Linked DNA regions of Homo sapiens: regions 1 and 2 are each linked to region 3. Evidence: promoter capture Hi-C in 16 types of primary human blood cells and fetal thymus (Javierre and others, 2016). All regions are on one chromosome and are shown on one strand. Each heading gives the region's core, a stretch centred on a gene start or on the middle of the fragment in contact. The rest is flanking DNA. Distances are from core to core; before and after follow the strand shown.

Region 1 (3,457 bases), core at 638-3,137, 2.3 Mb before region 3:
ACATTTACTGTAGTAGCATTTGTAATACCAGAAAACTTTCAGTTACCTAAATGTATGTCAAATCCAACCACACAATAGAGTAGCTGCTAAACAATAAGGCAGGTCAGTATATACTAACAAGATGACTGATGACTTTAATATACTTTTACAAAGGAAGTGGATGAACTGGCCAGGAGTCGTGGCTCACGCCTGTAATTCCAGCACTTCGGGAGGCCGAGGCGGGCAGATCGCGAGGTCAGGAGATCGAGACCGTCCTGGCTAACACGGTGAAACCCCGTCTCTACTAAAAATACAAAAAAATGAGCTGGGTGTGGTGGCAGGCGCCTGTAATCCCAGCTACTCAGGAGACTGAGGCAGGAGAATGGTGTGAACCCGGGAGGCAGAGCTTGCAGTGAGCCGAGATGGCACCACTGCACTCCAGCCTGGGCGACAGAGCGAGATTCTGTCTCAAAAAAAAAAAAAAAAAAAAAAATGGACGAACTGTTAAGGTGCAATTTTCTAAGCCTTAAAAAATGACAAGTATTTTGCATAGATGTAATTGATTGACTATGCACAAAATGGGAAATTGGACACAGGCTAATTTCATGTTCAGATTTATGTAGAAATGTATTCTTTCCATTTTTAACAAGGAATATATGTTATGCTATTTTGTTTTTTTTTAACTTTTAAGTTCGGGGGAACATGTGCAGGCTGGATATATAGGTAAACTTGTATCATGGGGGTTTGTTGTACATATTATTTCATCACCCAATTATTAAGCCTAATACCCATTAGGTGTGTTTTCTGAACCTGTCCTTCCTCCCAACCTCCACCTTCCAACAGCCTCAAGTGTCCATTGATCCCCTCTTTGTGTCCATGTCTTCTCATCATTTAGCTCCCACTTATAAGTAAGAACACATGGTATTTGGTTCTCTGTTCCTGCATTAATTTGCTAAGGATAATGGATTCCAGCTCCATCCATGTTCTTGCAAAGGACATGATTTTGTTCTTTTTTATGGCTGAGAAGTATCCTATGGTGTATATGTACCACATTTTCTTTATCCAGTCTACGATTGATGGGCATTTAAGTTGATTCCACGTCTTTGCTATTGTGAATAGGGCCGCAATGAACATAAACACGCATGTGTGTTTATAATAGAACAATTTACATTCCTTTGGGTATATACCCCACATTGGAATTTTGGGAGGAATTGCAGGGTCTAATGGTAATTCTGATTTGAGGTCTTTGAAGAGTTGTCACCGTTTTCCATAATGATTGAACTAATTTACACTCCCACCAGCAGTGTATAAGCATCGCTTTTTCTCCACAACCTCATCAGCACTTGTTATTTTTTAACTTTTTAATAGTAGCCATTCTGACTTTTATGAGATGGTATTTCACTGTGATTTTGACTTGCATAGAAATGCTACTGATTTTTGTATCTTGACTTTGTATGCTGCAACTTTACTAAATTTGTTTGTAAGTCCTAACAAGTTTGTTGGTGGAGTCTTTAGAGAAACTCTTTTAGTCTTTATAATATGTTGTCTCACAAAATTTGATAATTATTAAATGTAACATTTTATTAACAATGCATCTCTTAATGAGATGAATATACATTTTTAAAAAGTGTTGTTTACATGGGCAAGCATTGTTTATTAGTAGAATGGGAGAAGGTTTAGTATCAGATTTATTCCTAAATTAATAATTTGTTTGTTTTTCATAGTTTAAAGACTAAGGACATGTATTTATATTAACAAGCAGATGGGAATAGCAGAAGGATGGTTATATTAATTTTGTCCAATTACATGAACTTCAGCATTATATATCTGAATCACATCATCTATAATTTAAAATAAATAATTTTAAATTACCAACTTATTTTTGAAAGTAGTGAACTGGGAGGAGACTGACCTGCCAAATGTTTTTATCAATTGGCTACTACTAACAATTGCATGAATACTAAATCCAGGAAAAAAATAGCATAAATTTACAAAAATTAATTTATATACATATTCTTGTTGCAGAAATGTAAATAGGATGTTAAATCAAAGACTTTCAAACATAGAAACATGTCACTCAGATAAAATTCTGTGGGAGAAGTGAAATGGAAATACAAATTAAGGTTAAAAACGAGTCATGTGAAATATTAATCATTTAAAGAGGAACTTATTCACGTATTTTTATAATGCATGGCACATATTAAATTGCCATAGTAAGTATATTAAATATATTACATTTTTAAAGTGATATATCAGTTTTAAATTTTCAATATTTACAACATGGTAAAAATTATATTCTTAGCATTTACTTGATCTTCCAGTGAGAAATTAGATGTTAATCTAAAATTTTCTTTACTCTTTTTTTTCTTTGAGACGGAGTCTCGCTCTGTCACCCAAGCTGGAGTGCAGTGGCACAATCTCGGCTCACTGCAAGCTCTGCCTCCTGGGTTCATGCCATTCTCCTGCCTCAGCCTCCGGAGTAGCTGGTACTACAGGTGCCTGCCACCACGCCCAGCTAATTTTTTTGTATTTTTAGTAGAGATGGGGTTTCACCGTGTTAGCCAGGATGGTCTTGATCTGACCTCGTGAACCGCCCACCTCGGCCTCCCAAAGTGCTAGGATTACAGGCGTGAGCCAACATGCCCGGTCTAAAATTTTCTTTCCTCTTAGCTACACTCTTTCCAGAACCTTGTACTATTATTTTTAACTTTGCTGTTTATTCTTTCCAGGCATTGGGCTCCAGTACTGTTTTCATATAATCAGGTTCCATAGTCCATTGTACATGTTTCCATTACCTCAAGGCCTGTTCATCTCTTCCTTCCTTCCTTATTCATTTCTTGCTTATGCCCTTAGTATTTTGCGCCATTCACAATTAATCATACTTCTTGGAAAAGTTTCAATTTTGAAACTGGATAAAAATTATTTTTTCAGATAAGTCTGCATTTCTCAGTTGATGATAGTTAAAAAAAAGCAAATATTGACTGGTCTGACTGTATGTTAAATAGTTTTAGTAAATGTTTATGTACTAAATATTTTAAATAAAAGCAGAGGTTATTAGAGTGTATAAATATCAAGATTTAATTGTATACTGTCTACAAGAAAACCACTTTTTATTTATTTATTTAGAGACATAGTTTCCCTCCGTCACCCAGGCTGGAATGCAGTGGCGTGGTCTGCAACCTCTGCCTCCTGGGTTCAAACAATTCTTGTGCCTTTGACCTCCTGAGTAGCTGGGATTATAGGTGCACCCCACCACACCCAGCTAATTTTTTTGTATTATTAGTACAGATGGGGTTTCACCATGTTAGCCAGGCTGGTCTCAAACTCCTGGCCTCAAGTGATCTGCCTGCCTTGGCCTCCCAAAGTTTTGGGATTACAGGCGTGAGCCACTGCGCCTGGTCGAAAACCACCTGTAATATAAAAATACAGACGGGATACAAAAGAAATGATAGGGAAAGATATTCCATACCAACACTAA
Region 2 (3,160 bases), core at 564-3,063, 2.8 Mb before region 3:
TCTTATGATAAACAAAATGTCTTAACAAAGTGTTCTCTTTCTCCCCAAGCATAACAGAATAATAATGCATTTACTCTACATGCTATAGATGCTTCTAGAATCTGGTAATCCTAAAAGAAAAATATCCCAGTATCTAGTTCTAGCCATCAATCTAGGATCTTACATTTAACATCTTACAAAATATAGGAAGTTCATACATTCTATGCTTGTGGTCTCCATTTCTCTGTATCCCAGTAATAGGGTCTTTTCAGCATCCACGAATTTTTAAGTTACATGACTTTATTCTGGTATTTCAACTTCTGAATCACCTCTAAAAACAACGGACGGAAAAAAAATCTTGGCTTCTTTACAAATTTTTTACATTTACAAAAACTTGCAACTTTCAGCTTTAGTATTGATAATGTTCAGTTGACAATACCTCAATGTTATTTTTATACTTTGTACCTAAAAGTGAATGTTTACTTACTGTTAGTTGCTTGCACGTTTTCCTCTAGTTTACAGAGCACTCTTAATTCAGACACCAGCCAAGCACAGAGTTTGGTAAACTCGGGGGAACTGGCTCCAGCAGAGACTGCCTGAGAGAGCGCTCCATCTTCCAACAATGGGCCCTTGTAACTGGTGAGCAAGAAATTACATTTCAGAAGAAAATACAATCATACCTAATATATTACAGATAAAACATATCTATGTCTTATTTATATAAGCAATAATTTAATAAAGATAAGTTAGTACTTATCTTTATTTTAAATGGACAAATATAAACATAATTTAGAACTATACTGAACCATTACAAAAAGCAGCTAAATGGTAGCTGCATTTCAACCTTTCAAAATGTAGGTGAATATCTAACAGAATTGCATATACTACTAAATTATGTCAACTTCTGTACATTTACTAAAAGCTTCCATTGTAAAAAGATTTATTTTCTTACTGTAATTGAATTGAGTATTAAAAGCAAATTAACAAGTAATAGCTAATTATACTGTAACTTATTTCAGAAATAAAACTTAGGTTATCTTTTCTAAAAATTTTCCAGAAAACAACTAGATTATGTTTTTATTTTGAGATGAGGTCTTGCACTGTCACATAGGCTGAAGTGCAGTGAAGGCACAAGCCACCAAACCTGGCTTTTTTTTTATTTTTTATAAAATAGCCAGGGGTCTTACTATGTTGCCCAGGCTTAGTTAGGTTTTTAATGACTTCCTTTAAAAGTAAAAACTTTCCAGTTAACCATTTATATCATTTTTATAAATTTAATGCCAGTTAAGACTAGTAAGACATTCTAGTACCAAAGAAACGTCAGGTTAGGTTAATAAATATTGGCAGTTAATGAACTGGCGCATCTGAATCCTAATCCTTTGTAAGTGATTCCAATATAATTTTAAAAAATTTAAAAATGTTCAAACATTCATAAAAGATGACAGTCATAATGAACTCCAATCACCAATATTCTAAAATATAAGATTTCTGTCACTCCAAGTAATCTTAAATACATATTATTCAGATTGCTTTACATTCTCTTAAATATTGATAATAATGCTTACTTAAGATGATACAATAAATATGCTTAAGATAATATAATGTTTAGGCCAGGCGTGGTGGCTCACGCCTGTAATCCCAGCACTTTGGGAGGCCGAGGCAGGTGGATCACGAGGTCAGGAGACCAAGACGATCCTGGCTAACACGATGAAACCCCATCTCTAATAAAAATACAAAAAAATTAACCAGGCATGGTGGAGGGCGCCTGTAGTCTCAGCTACTCAGGAGGCTGAGGCAGGAGAATGGCTTGAATCCAGGAGGCAGAGCTTGCAGTTAGCCGAGATCGCACTACTGCACTCCAGCCTGGGCGACAGAGCAAGACTCCGTATCAAAAAAAAAAAAAAAAAAAGATAATATAATGTTGAGAACTACAGGTATGTTAGAGAAATGACAGTTCTCAAACCCTTTAAAATATGATTATAGGTTTATACAGTATATGCAACAAAATGAAAACAAATCATACATAAAAAAATGAGATCACATGTAGTCTGGCATCTAGATTTATAAACTATGTATTATTAGACACTGAAATCAAAAGACTAGGCCTAGAAGTTTCTCCTTGAGTTTCACATTTAGACTTCATTAGTTTATTCAACAAGTAGTTACTGAATTCCTACTGTGTGCCAGGTAAGAGATAAAAGATGACTATTTGCCAGGATCAGTGGCATACACCTGTAGTCCCAGCTACTCCGGAGCCTGAAGTGGGAGGATCGCTTGAGGCTAGGAGTTCGAGACCAGCCTGGTCACCAGAGCAAGACCTCATCTCTTAATAAATAAATAAATAGAAAAGGTAGTCATTTAATTCTAATATTTCTCAGTTAATCCTTTAAAAGTACATTTCAGTTAATTAAGGCTGACTTTTAATATTTGAATGCCACCAAACTAAGTAGTTAAGGTTAAAATTTATAACAGTTTTCAGAAAATCCATGGTTTACATTACACTCTATGTCAAGTAGTTATGTGATTACAATTACTACAGTAACAATTACTTGTACAGTACCCAAAAGAATAAAAAGTTAAAAAAAGGAGGGGGAAAAAAAAAGACAATAATGGGAAGAAACAGCATCCGTGGCCAATTCTTAAGTGACCACTATCCATGCAGAAAGACTACATTTAATAAGGTCTACCCCCTTCCTTTCATTCCACTCATTCCACTACAGTACTATAGTGTCATTTATTCCAGAAAGAAGCTTCTAGGATTTCATTTCCTTTCCCAGTAAAGGGACCCTCCTCAGGGCTCCTCACAGCATATTTTCCCAGTATCCTGTGAACCCCTCTTCCACCTCACCTTGTACTCTAAGGGCCTAACACTGCCACAAAGAAACTGTTCCTAAAAAAGTCCTAATGAATGAATGGTTTCATGTGTGAACAAGCGATTCAGTCTGAGATGTCAACTAAAGAGACTATTTTGCTGAATGACTTTAACATATGCCCTAATGAAAGAAAGAAGCCCCCTAAAGTCTGGAATATTTATAAAAATTCAGAGCAAGTTTCCAAGAAAAGAACAATAGTATTTCACTGTGACAAAGACAGATGATAAGCAAGACTACTTCGTTCCTAAAAATTTCTACTAGGGTAGTAAATTATTCAAATAGGCAGACTTTGGGAATCCTCAAGGTGT
Region 3 (3,298 bases), core at 799-3,298:
TCTCCTGCCTCAGCCTCCTGAGTAGCTGGGATTACAGGCATGCGCTACCACACCCGGCTAATTTTTGTATTTTTGATAGAGACAGGGTTTCACCATGTTTCACCATGTTGGCCAGGCTGGTCTCGAATTCCTTACCTCAAGTGATCTGCCCACCTTGGCCTCCCAAAGTGCTGGGATTATAGGCATGAGCCACCACGCCCAGTCTCTTCGGTTTTTCTAATAGAAAACCTAGCATATTTTAAACGATTTTGCCACTTAACACTTATTATGGACCCACAGGGTATGAGGGCCTTTGGAGATCATCTAATCGGACTTCCCACCCAACTACAGGAATCATTTCATTGCAACAACTCTTTAAACCCGTCTAGAAAATGCAATGCTCTCTCCCCTTTTCCACGGTTGAACATCTTCCTCATGGCCCTATAATAATCAATGATAATTAATGAGCCTCTTCCTCTCCTTGGACAAAGAAATATGATAGGAGAAATGTTTAGTTTGCTGATGCCCATCATGGGGGAATAGTCCACTGGTAACTCTGGCTTTTGGGTTCAGGATTAGACAGAGTGGTTAAACTAAAATATTTATCGTAAGTATGAATTTGTTCCACAAACATAACATTTCAAAGGTAGCTTTGTTTCCTCTTTCCTTGCACTGCCAGCTATTAACTTTCGGTTCATTAGTCACGATTTTCAGAATCCACTTGGCTGCCACCTTCCTGCAGCCAGACCATCTTGGATCAGAGGGTGGGCCAGCCATTCCCACGTCACACCTGCCACGGGATCGATTTTTTCCCCCATTGACCACAGTCACTTTTTGTCAATTAATTAATGTTATTCACCTGGTACCCATCTTGTGAATGGTAGGTCACTACGGAGCGGATTACTACTTCATATCCCATCAATGACAGAGCCATCATTACGAAAACCTTTTCTGACAACCACTGAAGAGAAACCATCTCCACACCGTGCATTTTGCATCACTTCCGTTGCTTCTTTACCTGATTTATCACAAAGACTATGTACCACACATCTTCTTTATTAATGCATTGACAATCAGTGAAGACAATGAAAACCCACCACTTTTGTCCGTGAACTGAGAAAGAAAATGGCAATGTCATATGGCATTAATGATGCATGAGATCTATGGGTGTAGTGTCACGTCTAGGCGTGTAGTAATCCAGTCTTCGGCCTTACTCCAGGGAGAAAGATTCAGCTTTGTTACTTTCCAGTCACTCTCTCCCGTAACACAGCACCTTGGCACAGAAAGCAGAGCGACAAAACCCAGAATGAGGACAGTTAAAATTCAACTCAAGCTACAGCCATCCCAACGGTCCTCCCCAGCTCCCGCGGAATATTTACCAAGACCGTTTAAAGCACTTAATTAATTCACTTCAGCTTCGCTGGAGAGGTCTCAGGGTTCCCGAGACTCCATTACATAATATCTTTCACAAAGTCTATTCCCAGCTCGAATGGAAGATGGATTCTCATCCAGTGTGCGGAGGTTCCATGCCTTTGCTTCCCTTTCCCGGAGTTCGATCCGGCGATACCCTCCCGAGGCTGCAGCCATCGCCCCGGCCCCGAGCTTCTGGGGTACCCGCCACTCTTCGAACTCCAATCTGGCCCCGAAGGTGCAGCCGCCTCGCCCTCCTGGCTCCCAGGCCGGCCGCTGCGGCCACGGTGCCAGCGAGCGCCCGGGACACCGCGACTCTCGCTGCTCGCTGGGTGCGCCCCAAGCCCATCCGCAGCGCACCCGCGGCGCCGGGGCCAGAGCCGCAGCTCGGTGGCACGGCCGGCTCGGTGCGCCGGGCTCGGGGAGGAGGAGATCGGGAAGAGGTGGAGGCGTGTGAGGGAGGGAGGAAGGGCCCGGCCGCCCGAGAGGGGGAGGGGGAGGCGGAGGGGGCCGGCCGGGCCGGGGAGGGGGGGCAGCCAATGAGCGGCGCGCGGCGCGTGGGGGTGGGGGGAAGGTCTGGGGGAGGAGGTAGGATGGGGGAGGGCGCAGCCCGAGCGGCTGAGGCTCCAGCCATAAACAAGCGCCCGGAGGAGCGGCGCAGGAGTGAGGCGAGCGGGGCGCGCGGAGCGGACGCCGCGGATCTTGTGCTGCGCCACCGCGCCCACTCGGCAGCTCGGGAGGCGGGGACCGGCCCGGAGGCTGCGCCGCTGCGGGGCCGGCCGACTCGGAGGAGGAGAGGGAGGAGGCGCCGCCGGCCCGGGCTGGAGCCGAGCGCAGCAGCCACCGCCGCCGCCGCGCCAGAAGTTTGGGTTGAACCGGAGCTGCCGGGAGGAAACTTTTTTCTTTTTTCCCCCTCCCTCCCGGGAGGAGGAGGAGGAGGAGGAGGGGAAGCTGCCGCCGGCGCCAAGGCTCGTGGGCTCGGGGTCGGCGCGGCCCGCAGAAGGGGCGGGGGCCTCGCCCCGCGAGGGGAGGCGCGCCCCGGGGGCCCCGAGAGGGGCGGTGAGGACCGCGGGCTGCTGGTGCGGCGGCGGCGGCGCGTGTGCCCCGCGCAGGGGAGGGCGCCCGCCCCGCTCCCGGCCCGGCTGCGAGGAGGAGGCGGCGGCGGCGCAGGAGGATGTACTTGGTGGCGGGGGACAGGGGGTTGGCCGGCTGCGGGCACCTCCTGGTCTCGCTGCTGGGGCTGCTGCTGCTGCTGGCGCGCTCCGGCACCCGGGCGCTGGTCTGCCTGCCCTGTGACGAGTCCAAGTGCGAGGAGCCCAGGAACTGCCCGGGGAGCATCGTGCAGGGCGTCTGCGGCTGCTGCTACACGTGCGCCAGCCAGAGGAACGAGAGCTGCGGCGGCACCTTCGGGATTTACGGAACCTGCGACCGGGGGCTGCGTTGTGTCATCCGCCCCCCGCTCAATGGCGACTCCCTCACCGAGTACGAAGCGGGCGTTTGCGAAGGTACGGCCGCCCGCTGCGGGCCCCCTCCCACCTGGCCTGCGCCGCCCCCTCGGCGCTGGTTGTGCCGAACAAAGTTTGGGCGAGACTTTCTGGAGGAAAGAGGGCTCTGCGGGAAGAGGGGCGGCCGCCGCCCCCAGGAGAGTGCCCCCGCGGCCCTGCGTTCCCTCTCCTTGTTCCCCCCGACGCTTAGGCAGTCGCGGGCGAGGTTGGGTATGGTGGGTGGGGGCGAGCGAGTGGAGGATCGCCCCTGTCCCCGCGCAGACGCGCACACGTGTGGCCGTTCCTGCTGGGACTGGGTGGCCCGGCCTTGCTCCCCGAGGTGGGGGCGCCGCGGGCGGGGGGCACTGCAGATTCTGCCGCGCGCGAGCCCCTCGGGGAGCCCGGCCCTACCGCCCTCCCCGCAC

Evidence for each region. Contacts are between HindIII fragments. The CHiCAGO score rates a contact against its expected background, and 5 or more counts as called.
Region 1: a contact is called between a fragment that was not itself captured here and the fragment with the promoter of CRIM1 in region 3, in 1 of 17 cell types (total CD4 T cells). The highest score is 5.7, in total CD4 T cells.
Region 2: a contact is called between a fragment that was not itself captured here and the fragment with the promoter of CRIM1 in region 3, in 1 of 17 cell types (M2 macrophages). The highest score is 5.9, in M2 macrophages.

The regions. Positions count from the first base shown.
Region 1 is chr2:34,086,052-34,089,508 of GRCh38, forward strand. All of the region lies in intron 4 of LINC01317 (long intergenic non-protein coding RNA 1317), which reads left to right. Among named protein-coding and RNA genes, the nearest start is that of LINC01318, 21 kb to the left of the region's middle. The HindIII fragment of the contact is 5,945 bases long and covers 1-3,457 here.
Region 2 is chr2:33,595,023-33,598,182 of GRCh38, forward strand. It overlaps FAM98A (family with sequence similarity 98 member A), which reads right to left. Exons shown (of 8, transcript NM_015475.5): 2 at 467-615. Among named protein-coding and RNA genes, the nearest start is that of FAM98A, 2.7 kb to the right of the region's middle. The HindIII fragment of the contact is 1,828 bases long and covers 900-2,727 here.
Region 3 is chr2:36,353,730-36,357,027 of GRCh38, forward strand. CRIM1 (cysteine rich transmembrane BMP regulator 1) reads left to right here and starts at 2,049. Exons shown (of 17, transcript NM_016441.3): 1 at 2,049-2,894. The coding sequence starts at 2,564. CRIM1-DT (CRIM1 divergent transcript) reads right to left here and starts at 1,841. Exons shown (of 2, transcript NR_037631.1): 1 at 1,359-1,841; 2 at 1,020-1,252. The HindIII fragment of the contact is 11,087 bases long and covers 1-3,298 here.